Linked DNA regions of Homo sapiens: all the other regions are linked to region 2. Evidence: promoter capture Hi-C in 16 types of primary human blood cells and fetal thymus (Javierre and others, 2016). All regions are on one chromosome and are shown on one strand. The core of a region is centred on a gene start or on the middle of the fragment in contact, and the rest is flanking DNA. Distances in the headings are between cores, read along the strand shown.

Region 1 (4,102 bases), core at 909-3,408, 360 kb after region 2:
TACAGTTACAGGCACCCCATGGTGGAGCTACAGAGGGACACCTTGCCATGGAGCTCTAGTTATGAGATATCTCCCCAGGACAATTTCTCTATTGCAAAGTGTACTCCATACATATTGGGCTAGTAGTGCCCTGCCGATAGAGATGACGCCAGAGTCAGCCCCCAGTCCAAAACTAGGTGGCCGCTTGGGCTGGCCTCTGGATCCATCGCCAGAGGGGGTCTACAGAACCGGGGCAGGTAGCACAAGAGCAATCCCGAATGAGCCCCCAAATTTTTAACTGCTCAACTGGTTCACCATGCCCACTACCTACACAGCTGATTTATCAAAATAGGGGAATTGCAATAGAGAGAGTAATTCATGCAGAGCCAGCTGTGCAGTCTGGCTGAGTTTTATTATTACTCACATCAATTTCCCCTAGCATTCAGGGATCAGAGGTTTTTGGGGTTTTTGTTTGTTTGTTTTTGAAATGGAGTTTCGCTCTTGTTGCCCAGGCTGGAGTGCAATGGCACAATCTCAGCTCACTGCAACCTCCGCCTCCCAGGTTTAAGCGATTCTCCTACCTCAGCCTCCCAAGTAGTTGGGATTACAGGCATGCACCACCATACCTGGCTCATTTTGTATTTTTAGTAGAGACAGGGTTTCACCATGTTGGCAAGGCTGGTCTCGAACTCCTGACCTCAGGTGATCCACCCGCCTCAGCCTCCCAAAGTGCTAGGATTACAGGTGTGAGCCACTATGCCCCACCTTGGAGATCAGAGTTTTTAAGGATAATGTGGTGGGTTAAGAGAGGCCAGTATGCCAGGAGTGCTGATTGGTTGTGTTGGAGATAAAATCATAGAAAGTCAAGGCTGTCTTCTTGTGCCAAGTCAGTTCCTGGTTGGGGGACACAAGATCAGATGAACCAGTTTATCAATCTGGTGGTGCCAGCTGATCCATCAAGTGCAGGGTCTGCAAAATATCTCAAGCACTGGTCTTAGGTTTTACAATAGTGATGTTATCCCCAGGAGCAATTTGGGGAGGGTCAGAATCTTGTAGCCTCCAGGTGCATGACTCCTACGTGTCTAATCTTGTGGCTAATTTGTTAGTCCTACAAAGGCAGTCTAGTTCCCAGGAAAGAAGGAGGTTTATTTTGGGAAATAACTTATCTTATTTTTTAAATTAATTAATTAATTTATTTATTTTTGAGACAGAGTCTTGCAGTGTCACCAGGCTGGAGTGCAGTGGTGTGATCTGGGCTCACTGCAACCTCCACCTCCCGGGTTCAAGCGATTCTCCTGCCTCAGCCTCTCGAGTAGCTGGGATTACAGGCACGCACCACCACGCCCGGCTAATTTTTTTGTATTTTTAGTAGAGACGGGGTTTCTCCATATTGGTCAGGCTGGTCTCGAACTCCTGACCTCAGGTGATCTGCCTGCCTTGGCCTCCCAAAGTGCTGGGATTACAGGTGTGAGCCACCGCGCCCGCCCAGGTGATTGTATTTTAAGAGCCTGGGGCTGGGAGGTCCGGGTACTAGTCCCATCTCTGCTTTGGCTTTCTGGATGGCTTTGGACAAGCCAGTGCAACTTCTCGAACCTGTTGCCTCTCATATAATAGGAACCTCCGCCACTTCTTGAAAACTTACTACAAGCCAAGTATTGTGATCAGGGGTTTCTATACGTCATCTCACAGTTCTATTTTATTTTTTTGCTTCAGAGAGAAACAAAAATAACGCTCCGGAAGACTGAGTAACGTATATATGAGCAGGAGCTGGTGACTGGCATAGGCTGGACTCGATCCAGCTCTGTGATTCTAACTCTAGCAACCCTGTTTTTTCCATTACACCATAGGGCGCGCTCTCCCCATGCTCCTGAGAGCAGGACATAGACTATGCCCTGCGCAGGCAGCCGTCCGCCTCCTGCAGGGAATGCTTGCTCCTGGGTGCACGCACGGATACCGCGATGGTCCGAGACCACGCTCTGGGACAGCAAGCCTCAAGCCTCGCACAGGAGAGGGCCGCGGAGCTTCCTCGACCCGCCCCGCCGCCCTTCCCGCGGGAGGCCCCGCCCCCGCCCCCCGCCCCGATTGGCTGTCGGGAGAGAGGCGGGGCCTAGGGGATTGGCTGCCCGGCGACCGCGGGCTGACGTGGCGGGGCTGGCGTGTGGGTCTCGCAGCGTTGCTCACAGAACAGAGTAGAGGCGGCGGCGGCGGCGGCCGGACCCAGACTGGTAGTGAGGCTTTGGACCCCGAGCCGCTGCAATGCCGCTGGAGCTGGAGCTGTGTCCCGGGCGCTGGGTGGGCGGGCAACACCCGTGCTTCATCATTGCCGAGATCGGCCAGAACCACCAGGGCGACCTGGACGTAGCCAAGCGCATGATCCGCATGGCCAAGGTGAGGCGGCAGCTCCCGGGACCCGGGATTCGGGCGCCGGGAGGGGCGGGGCGGGGCCGCGGGGAGCCAGGGCCACACGGCCTCCGCGGCTGGGTACCCTGGTCCGGCCTCTTCCCGCCCGCCAGTTCCGTTTTCGGAATCCTTCGGATCCCTCTTCCTCACCGTGTCCGCCACCCTCGTGACCTTTCTGCATTACAGCAGCTGCCTCCTAACCCGACCTGTTTCCTCCCCGTTCTGGTGCCAGAATAATCTTTCTAAAAGTCAGACTTGATCAGACCATCCCCCCTGCCTGGCACCTTCTGTGGCTCCCTCCTGCCCGCGGGTAGAGTCGAAACCCTTTAACATAGCCTTCAAGATTTTAATGACTGGGCCCCTTCCAGCCCGTCATAATTCTTCTCTGACATTCTTCAGCGACACAGAGTTACTTTCAGGAATGACAGTTCCTGGAAGTTGCTGTGGTCTCTCTCACCCGCCATTCCCTGTATATGAAATATGAAGTGGTTAAAAGCCGGGCCTTTGAGTTCAAATCTCAGTTCCACCACTACTAGCTGTGTGAACATGGGCTGCTTACTTAGCCTCCGTGAACCCTTTTCCCCATTTGAAAACGGGGCTTGAAAACAACAGTTCTTTCCACATGGAGTTGTTATGGGGATCAAATGAGATTCTCAGATAGAGCTCTGAGCCCAGCACTTGGCACACATGAGTCGGTAAATGCGTGCTCCCTCTTCTGTTGGGACTGCCATATTCTTCATTACGACCCCAGCCCCCAGCATAAGGCCTGGCCTGCACTATGATTCTTTGGTTTAGAGATAGCTCACCCCATCTTTCCTTTCCCTTCATCAATGCTACTCAACTGATTTTGTATCATTTGTGATAGGTTTTTTAAATGTTTATTTATTTATTTATCTATGTTAGAGACAGGGTCTTGCTCTGTCACCCAGGCTGGAGGTTTTCTCTTACTGTTTTTTTTTTTTTTTCCTGGTTTTTTTTTTTTTTTTTTTTGAGACAGGGTCTCTGTATCACCCAGGCTGGAGTGCAGTGGCATGATCCCGGCTCACTGCAACCTCTGCCTCCCAGGCTTAAGTGATTCTCCCACCTCAGCCTCCCGAGTAGCTGGGACCCACAGGCGTGAACCACCATGCTGGGCTAATTTTTTTGTAGAGATGGGGTTTGGCCATGTTACCCAGGCTGGTCTCGAACTCCTGAGCTCAAGCAATCTGCCCACCTTGGCCTCCGAAAGTGCTGGGATTACAGGTGTGAGCCACCACCCTCGGCCCTTGCTGTTCCTTCGGGACTGGTTTTATGGAAACCTAATCACTGAATCATAAAAATACTTTACAAAAATAACATTGCTAACATTTTTTGAGTGCTTACTCTACCAGGTACTAAGCTAAATGCTGTACATGCACCATCTCATTTAATTTTTACAACAACCCAATGCCATGATGCTGCCGATTTCATTTTAAAGGCTAAGAGAAAATAAGTGACTTAGGCAAGGTCACATAGCTAGTATAATAAATACAGTAAGGGGTTTTTTCAGTTTTTGCTCCTAAGCCACAGGACTCCAGCCTTTCTTCTGCAACATTGTTTTCTAGAGGGAAATTCCCACTCTTAATTTGAAGGAGCAGTCTGTTTTTCCTCTTGGAATGCCGAAGTTGTAGAAATATCTAGAGATACTGAAGCCATAGAAACAAAGCTGTACTGACCAGGTGCAGTGGCTGATTCCTGTAATCCC
Region 2 (4,253 bases), core at 496-2,995:
CTCATGCCCAAAACAAAGTCCGATTTCTCTCTGCTGCTATGCCTTGCTGTTTCCCCAGGACCTTAGCACCACTCTTCGTATTCTAAGCAAGTTTTTTCAGTCTTTCATGGCATATGTCATGGCACACAGAGAAAAAGAAAATTGTATAGTACCATGAAATAAAAGTGTCACAAAGATAAAAATCTCAGCACTTACCTAACTCTTGAAACATGGTGGGTTGTACACAATGCTACAATACAGTTCAGTTCTTGGGGAACTGCCTAAGAAATCTTAAAGAATGTTCATTCTACCTTGCTTTCCATGATCAAAAGTTTAATTTAATGTCAGTTTTTGCTATTTTGCACCTTCCGTTCCACAGCCATGTCGTAGACCTGGAAACCTTTATGGAATCATGACTATGAATTAATCAGTGCAAATGAACTTTCTGTCTGACTCTAGCGTGCCTCAAGTTTAGAAAGGAATAAAAGGTAACCACTATAAAGTAGAAAGGATGAGACCAGTACCATCAAAAGTAGCTGGAATTTGCAGTTTCGGTGTTAGTATGAACATCAAGACATGCTGCCAGCCTCAGACTCTTCTCACTCTCACTACATCTGGCTGATAAAAAAGAGTAATACAGCTCTAAACTGTGCTCGACAAAGGGCAGTATAGAGCTTTAGGAACACATGTACTTCATGTTATAGAGGCAGCCCTGAAGAACTGCCTGTCAACCAAACTATATTTTAAGTATCCTGTTAAAGATTATTAGTTGACCCCAGTGGCAAATTCTATAAGAGAATAATCTGCAATGAGAGATCAGTCCTTAATTTACTTCAATCAATAAACACGTTTTGAGCAACTAGTTTTTGCCAAGAAATCGCAGAGGTCACATGTCCAAGAAATAGACTCATGGAATCTATGGATTAGAATCTTAAAGGTTTACTATCCAGTCCCTTCTTCTGATTGCTGAGTAGGAGATTCTGATTGCTGAATCTCCTCTCCTCCACATAAGTAAGCGTTCTTCCAGTTCCTATTTGAGCGCTTCTAGTAACGGGAAGCTCATGAGAAGCAATCCATTGCACTTTTGGCAACTCTAATTGTTGAAAGCTCTCCCTAACAAACACCAAGATCTGCCTCTTCCATCAACTAGTTCTAGGTATAGAGGCCAGAATCAAGAACTAGTCTAACTCCTCTTTCCGGGACAGCTGAGGCCCTGACACCTGGCAGTGGCTGACACCTCCCGGCCGGGGCGGCTGCATCCCTAAACGAAAAATCGAAGCTGCCAGCAGCCGAGGTGCAGCGAAGAAGGCCCGGGGCTGGGGGTCAGGAGGCCCGCGTGCGACAGAGGAACGCTCTGTGGTCGTGGACAGGACGCTTTGACAAGGCGGCTGGCTGGGCGGATTCCCTCTCCGACTCGGGGAGAATCTGCACACATACGCCAGCGGAGTTGACGCGACCCCCGGGCCCCGGGACTCGGCTTGCACGAGCCAGTCTGGGGACCGGGGAGGCGGGGAGAGGGAAGGGGAAAGCGCGGACGCGGCCCAAACCTCCAGTAGCCGCAGCCGCCGTCGCCGAGTAGGGCCGGGCAGCCAGCCGGGCCTGGCGCAGCATCAGTGCCCGCTGCCGCTTCCGCTCGATACTCGCCCGCACCGAGGCAGGCAGCTCCGCGGGTTGCTCTAAAGCCGCCGCCTCCGGCAAAGCCCCGTCGGCCGCCGCCATCTCTGGCCCACTCCGAGGACCTAGCTCCCAGCTCCACGCACGCGCACTGCACGCCGAGGCGAGCCAGCCGCCCTGCACCGCCTCTGCGCTCCCCGCACCCAGCGGCCTTTCTGAGTGAGAGCGCCTGCGCAGTTAAGGGGCTCGGGGTGGCCTGCCCGGGCGCTGGGCGGAGTCTGGGTATGCGCGGACACGGAGTACCCGCCTAACTACCTGCTCTCTTGTCATCCGGGAGAAGGGTCCGTGCTGAGATCATATCTCACGACCTGGTCACCTTTAAAATAGGTCTCGCTTGGTGATTCAGAGTATAGGCTTTGGAGTCAGGCCTGGGTTAAGTCTGAGCTCTTGACAGTTAAAGTCTGTGTGACCTTGGGCAAGTTATTTAACCAGAGTTCAGTTTCTTCAGTGGTAAAATGAGGATAATTATGGAACCATTTACCGAGTCTTTGGGAGGATTAGATTGCCAGGACAATAACCTGGCACGTAGAAGACCTCAAAAAATGGTAACAGTGAGTAGTAGTAGTGCCAGTCATAGAGCCCAACAGATGATAGTCCTGATTTTATGTTGGATACACGGCCTAGAGACACAGCCTTAGATTTAAAATGAGAAGACCTGGGTTGAAACTCCCAGTTAACTTGCTGTGTGACCTCAGGCAAATGCAGGACTTGCTCCAAGGCTGATATGCATAAGGTTGGCTATCTTTCCCATGGAATATTCCTTCAGTGAGGATGAGCTACTGCCAGGTAGACAGTGGGTTTGGATCTGGGCCAAATATCCTGACTTCCCAAAAGTGTGGCTAGTGTAACAAAAGAAACATAGCAGGCTTTCCCAAAAATGTATGCTTTCCCTTTGTTACAAATAATGCTTAATTGAAACCAGAAAACATTAACTTCTAATTACTACATGTACCATTTAGGACTGGCTTTTAGAAAGACAACCTCACACACTGATGTTTCCCACTAATGTTCAATGGTTAACCTTTCAGAAACACAATTCAGTGTTCTAATTTATCGGTCATATATACATAAAGCTGCAAAACCTCGTATAAAGCAGTTACCTGCTGAAATCTTAGGTTGAATTGGAGATAGAATCTCAAGCCATCCCCATCTCCCTTCCCCTCAGATCCTTCTTTCTCCCTACCCATCAATCTTGCCCAGGTGAAACTATTTCAAATTCCATAACATCAAAAGCACAAGCAACAAAAGAAAAAAAGCTGGACTTCATTAAAATTAAAAACTAGGCTGGGCACAGTGGTTCACACCTGTAATCTCAACAGTTTGGGAGGCCAAGGCAGGAGGATGACTTGAGGTCATGAGTTCAAGACAAGCTGAGGCAACACAGTGAGACCCTGTCACTATTAAAAAATAATAATAATTGGCAAGGTGCAGTGGCTCATGTCTGTAATCCCAGCCCTTTGGGAGGCCAACACAGGAGGATTGCTTGAGACCAGGAGTTCAAGACCAACCTGGGCAATGTAACAAGAACCCATCTCAGGAGGTCAAGGCTGCAGTGAGCTGTGATGGCACCACTACACTCCAGCCTGGGCAACACAATAACATCTTGTCTCAAAAAAAAATTAAAGTCGTCGGCAAAGCCTGAGTCCTGTCCTCTCACTCTCCTCCCTGGACAGCATAAGCTTCACCACTCGCTCCACCTTCTCCACCAACTACCGGTCCCTGGGTTCTGTCCAGGCACCCAGCTACGGTGTCCGGCTGGTCAGCAGCATAGCCAGCGTCTGTACAGGCACGGGGGCTCTGGTTCCCGGATCTCCATGTCCCGCTCCACCAGCTACCTGAGCAGCATGGGTTCCGGGGGCCTGGCCGCGGGGATGGCCAGGGGTCTGGCAGGAATGAGAGGCATCCAGAACAAGAAGGAGACCGTGCAAAACCTGAACAACTGCCTGGCCTCCTACCTGGACAGAATGAGGAGCCTGGAGGCCAAGAACTGGAAGCTGGAGAGTAAAATCCAGGAGCACCTGTAGAAGAAGGGACCCCAGGTCAGAGATGAGCCATTACTTCAAGACCATTGAGGGCCTGAGGACTCAGATCTTCACAAATACTGTGGACAATGCCTGCATTGTTCTGCAGATTGACAATGCTGGTCTTGCTGCTGATGACTTTAGAGTCAAGTATGAGACAGAGCTGGCCATGCGCCAGTCTGTGGAGAGCCACATCCATGGGCTCCGGAGGTCACTGATGACACCAGTGTCACTCGGCTGCAGCTGGAGACAGAGATCGAAGCTCTCAAGGAGGAGCTGCTCTTCATGAAGAAGAACCACGAAGAGGAAGTAAAAGTGTTGTACCCGAGCGAGTTAAAAAAACGCCACACTTTGAGATGAATTAAGAGTCCTTTATTAGCCGGCGACCGAGAGACGGCTAACGCTCAAAATTCTCTCGGCCCCGAGGAAGGGGCTTGATTAACTTTTATACCTTGGTTTAGAAAGGGGGGGTCGTCTAGTTAAAACAATTTTACAGAAGTTAAGTAGTCAAAAAGTTAAAAGGATAAATGGTTACAGGAAAGTAAACAGTTCCAGATGCAGGGGCTTTAAGACTATTAC
Region 3 (4,618 bases), core at 161-2,660, 320 kb after region 2:
CATTAGTTGTTAACAAAACGCATCCTCTTTTGTAGTATAAAAATAAGGCTTGGGGTTTGTGTGATGTCATTAGGTGTATGATTGACATTAAAGTTCTGAAAGAAGCTTTGTATATGAATGGGATATAGAAATTTTTGTCTAAATCTGTTTTGAAATTTGAGATTTTAAGATGTTTTCTTGAATTATCCAGAGTTATATACTAATTAAACATCTAGCAAATGAACTGCTTGCTTCTAAAAAAAATTTTTCTTAGAAAAATTATAAAGCTCGTTAAGGAAAATCAGTGGGTCTTGGTACATCAAAGTAGATAAAAATAACATTACAGTTTCCTGCTTGATTGATATTGTTGCATTTATTTGTACTTCTTAGTTTGGCAGAATTTGTACTATATGCACTTTTCAATTTGGCAGAATTAATTTAATGTTATGCTGTTTGCTATTCTTTAGGAAGAAGAATTTGGACTTGATGAAGAAGATGAAGATGAGGATGAGGATGAAGGTGGGCCTAATGCATGCATTTTGATCATTCTCAGTTAAAAATTAGAGAAAAACATCCATTATTTAGAATATGATACCACTGAGAAGAAAATAAAATACTCTTGGCTCTGGTGGTTTACACATTCACATTCTCGTTTCTATCGTCCCATCAGTGTGTCTGTGCTGGTGCAGGCTCCCTGCTGCTACAGCAGTTATTCCTGTCTCATGGCAAGGGTCCTGTTGGTCTTCAGTCCTCATGGGGTTTTTTTCGGGGTGGTGGTGGTGGTGGTGGTGTTTTGAGACGGAATCTCGCTCTGTTGCCCAGGCTGGAGTGCAGTGGCACGATCTCGGCTCACTGCAAGTTCCGCCTCCTAGGTTCAAGCCATTCTCCTGCCTCAGCCTCCAGAGTAGCTGGGGCTACAGGCGCCTGCCACCACGCCCAGCTAATTGTTTGCATTTTTAGTAGAGACGGGGTTTCACCGTGTTAGCCAGGATGGTCTCAATCTCCTGACCTCGTGGTCCACCCGCCTCAGCCTCCCAAAGTGCCGGGATTACAGGCGTGAGCCACCACACCCGGCCTGTTGTTTTCTTGAGATGGAGTCTTGCTCTGTCGCCCAGTCTGGAGTTCACTGGTGCAATCTAAGCTCACTGCAGCCTCCACCTCCCAGGTTCAAGGGATTCTCTGCCTCAGCCTCCTCAGTAGCTGGGATTACAGGCATGCACCACCACACTTGGCTAATTTTTGTATTTTTAGTAGAGACAGGGTTTTGCCATGTTGGCCAGCCTGGTCTTGAATTCCTGGCTGAATTCAAGTGATCCACCCACCTCGGCCTCCCAAATTACTCGGATTACAGGTGTGAGCCACCATGCCTAGCCTGTTCCCCATGTTTTAAATGTGTTTTTAGGACCAGTCATTTGGTTTACTGTCAAGTGTGAGTTTCTGTGTTTGGAGTTCTTTCATTTTTTAAAAAAAGGCTTTAATAATTGAACCATCATTTTCAGGATATATAAATAGATGTAGCAGTTTCCCAGTTTTGTCAGTGTTAGTCCTTTCCCCACTACAACCAAGACAAATGAAATAGCTGTTACTTATTTAATACTGTTGAAAGTATGCCAGCCTGGACAACATAGACCCTGTCTGTACAGAAAATTAAAAAGTTAGCTGGGACCGGGTGTGGTGACTCACGCCTGTTATCTCAGCACTTTAGGAGGCCGAGGCAGGTGGATCACCTGAGGTCAGGAGTTCGAGAGCAGCCTGGCCAACATGGTAAAATCCTGTCTCTACTAAAAATTAAAAAATTAGTCAGGCGTGGTGGCACGCACTCAAACCCAGGAGGCAGAGATTCAGTGAGCTGAGGTCATGCCACTGCACTGCAGCCTGGACAACAGAGCAAGACTCTGTCTCAAAAAAAAAAAAAAGTTAGCTGCACATGGTGGTGCACACCTATAGTCCCAGCTACTTGGGAAGCTGAGGTGGGAGGACTGCTTGAAGTTGCAGTGAGGCTATGATAGTGCCACCGCACTCCAGCCTGAGTGACAGAGGGAGACCTTGTCTCAAATAAAAAGTCTCATGGTTGTGTCTCAGAAAATCAGGTGTTCACTGTGCTGTTGGCTGATGTTTTCTCAGCATCCACTTTGTCAAGCTCTCAATTACATTTACACTAGATATTACCCTGGTTAGGACCTGGTCACTGCCTTTAAGAACCTGTATGATTGGGAGGCCGAGGCGGGTGGATCATGAGGTCAGGAGATCGAGACCATCCTGGCTAACACGGTGAAACCCCGTCTCTACTAAAAATACAAAAAAATTAGCCGGGTGTGGTGGCAGGCGCCTGTAGTCCCAGCTACTCGGGAGGCTGAGTCAGGAGAACGGCATGAACCCGGGAGGCGGAGCTTGCAGTGAGCCGAGATCAAGCCACTGCACTCCAGCCTGGGCGACGGAGCCAGAGTCTGTCTCAAAAAAAAAAACAACCTGTATGAAATATGATTTAACATATAGTTAATTTCATTAAAATAACCATGGATTTTATTAGTTGAAAAAATTGGTCTATATGTAAGTCTCTGTGTCTCGACTACATAATACTCTTAAGAATTTCCTTTTTAGTTAATATTAGTTTGCTACAATTTGAGTCTTAATGATGTTCCATACTATGTTTTGTGTGTTATTTAATTCTCAGAATAACCTTTTAAAGTCAGTACCATTGTCCCCATTTTACAGATGAAAAAGGCTTAAAGAGGTTAAGCTTGTCTGAGATCACTTGAAAGTAAGCATGTCTTGAAGACGTGCTAGATAGCACGAGGGGTTTTGTTTTGTTTTTTTGGAGACAGTTTCGCTCTTATCACCCAGGCTGGAGTCCAGTGGCACAATCTCAGCTCACTGCAACCTCCGCCTTCCGGATTCAAGCAATTCTCATGCCTCATCATCCAGAGTAGCTGGGATTACAGGTACATGCCACCATGCCTGGCTCATTTTTGTATTTTTAGTAGAGACGGAGTTTCACCATGTTGGCCAGGGTGGTCTGGAACTCCTGACCTCAGGTGATCTGCCTGCCTTGGCCTCCCAAAGTGCTGGGATTATAGGCATGAGCCAGTGGGCCTGACCAGCTCAGGTTAATAATAAGCACTTTAATAATTGCTAGATTTGTAAAAAGAAACATTTGGAAGACAACACCTTAAAATCGAGGAAACTGGATTAACTTTTCCTGGGTGAGTTGAGGTGCTGCTGTGCATTTTGCTTTTCTTGGTTCTGTGGTCACCACTTATACTTGCTATTAGTCACCTATATTAATCTGATCAAGTTTACATTGTTTTATCTCCTAACTGTCAAAAACTTTGTTGTTGTTGCCTCCATTGGCAATAATCTAAGCAAAATGCCTTTCCACTGTCCTAAAGTCAATTTTTGTTACTGTACAGAGGAGGAAGAAGGTGGGAAAGGTGAAAAGAGGAAGAGAGAAACAGATGATGAAGGAGAAGATGATTAAGACCCCAGATGACCTGCAGAAACAGAACTGTTCAGTATTGGTTGGACTGCTCATGGATTTTGTAGCTGTTTAAAAAAAAAAAAAAGGTAGCTGTGATACAAACCCCAGGACACCCACCCACCCAAAGAGCCAAAGAATAGTTCCTGTGACATTCCGCCTTCCTTCCATGTAGTCCCTCTTGGTAATCTACCACCAAGCTTGTGGACTTCACCCCAACAAAATTGTAAGCGTTGTTAGGTTTTTGTGTAAGATTCTTGCTGTAGCGTGGATAGCTGTGATTGGTGAGTCAACCGTCTGTGGCTACCAGTTACACTGAGATTGTAACAGCATTTTTACTTTCTGTACAACAAAAAAGCTTTGTAAATAAAATCTTAACATTTTGGGTCTGTTTTTTCATGCTTTGCTTTTTAATTATTATTATTATTTTTTTTACATTAGGACATTTTATGTGACAACTGCCAAAAAAGTATTTTTAAGAATTTAAGCGAAATAAACAGTTACTCTTTGGTAAAGCCTAGTTGTATGCTTACATTTTTAAATTATACTCTCATTGTAAGCTCATGTTAAAACACCAAAGAACTGGTTTATTTGGCATTTTTATATTAGTAGTTGTTGAGGGGAATTGCACAAGTGTGTAGGATCTTTGAGCATTTAGATCAAATCCTCATTGATAACTGGGAGTAAATGAAGCATACTTTAAAAAATAACGTTCAAAATGGAATACTCTGGGGCCCTGAAAACCAGTAAAATGTTAGGTTCAAGTATTATGTGAATTAAGGGAAAGAAGATAGTGTAAAGCAAAAGGCCTTCACCAGAATCCCAAGAGATCTGAATTCTAGTTCTGGCTCTGCCACTGATTTTCTGTGTGACCTTGTGTTGACTCTGGGTCACCACCCAGTCTGGAAAATTGAAGGGGTGTGACCAAATGGCTTCTGAAGTCACTTGTAGCACTGATGTTCTGTGACCCTTGCTGACAGGAAGGTCTGAAGAGAAAAATGGGCTTTCCACTAGTCTGAAGCATGTAGGGTTTGACTGATGGGTGAACACAGTATGGTTTGTTGCCAAGACAGGCGTGAAAAGGGGGAATGACATGTGAAAAGCCTCACCAAGCAGTGGGTAGGCACTGCCTGAGGTCAACTCAGGTTTTCCATAAGATGGAAA

The links. The method cuts DNA at HindIII sites, captures the fragments that hold promoters and counts their contacts. A CHiCAGO score of 5 or more calls a contact.
Region 1: a contact is called between the fragment with the promoter of NANS here and the fragment with the promoter of XPA in region 2, in 1 of 17 cell types (neutrophils). The highest score is 5.3, in neutrophils.
Region 3: a contact is called between a fragment that was not itself captured here and the fragment with the promoter of XPA in region 2, in 1 of 17 cell types (neutrophils). The highest score is 6.3, in neutrophils.

What each region holds. Positions count from the first base shown.
Region 1 is chr9:98,054,574-98,058,675 of GRCh38, forward strand. NANS (N-acetylneuraminate synthase) reads left to right here and starts at 2,159. Exons shown (of 6, transcript NM_018946.4): 1 at 2,159-2,367. The coding sequence starts at 2,236. It also overlaps a transcript of TRIM14 not described here. RefSeq lists enhancers at 1,668-1,717, 2,758-2,877 and silencers at 1,908-2,257, 2,338-2,507. The HindIII fragment of the contact is 20,554 bases long and covers 1-4,102 here.
Region 2 is chr9:97,695,595-97,699,847 of GRCh38, forward strand. It overlaps XPA (XPA, DNA damage recognition and repair factor), which reads right to left and starts at 1,746. Exons shown (of 6, transcript NM_000380.4): 1 at 1,527-1,746. The coding sequence starts at 1,698. PTCSC2 (papillary thyroid carcinoma susceptibility candidate 2) reads right to left here. Exons shown (of 11, transcript NR_147055.1): 11 at 4,031-4,253. It also overlaps the pseudogene KRT18P13. RefSeq lists enhancers at 1,138-1,197, 1,208-1,257 and a silencer at 1,808-1,907. The HindIII fragment of the contact is 4,221 bases long and covers 1-3,330 here.
Region 3 is chr9:98,011,975-98,016,592 of GRCh38, forward strand. ANP32B (acidic nuclear phosphoprotein 32 family member B) reads left to right here. Exons shown (of 7, transcript NM_006401.3): 6 at 447-498; 7 at 3,390-3,969. The coding sequence ends at 3,457. Among named protein-coding and RNA genes, the nearest start is that of ANP32B, 31 kb to the left of the region's middle. The HindIII fragment of the contact is 2,614 bases long and covers 104-2,717 here.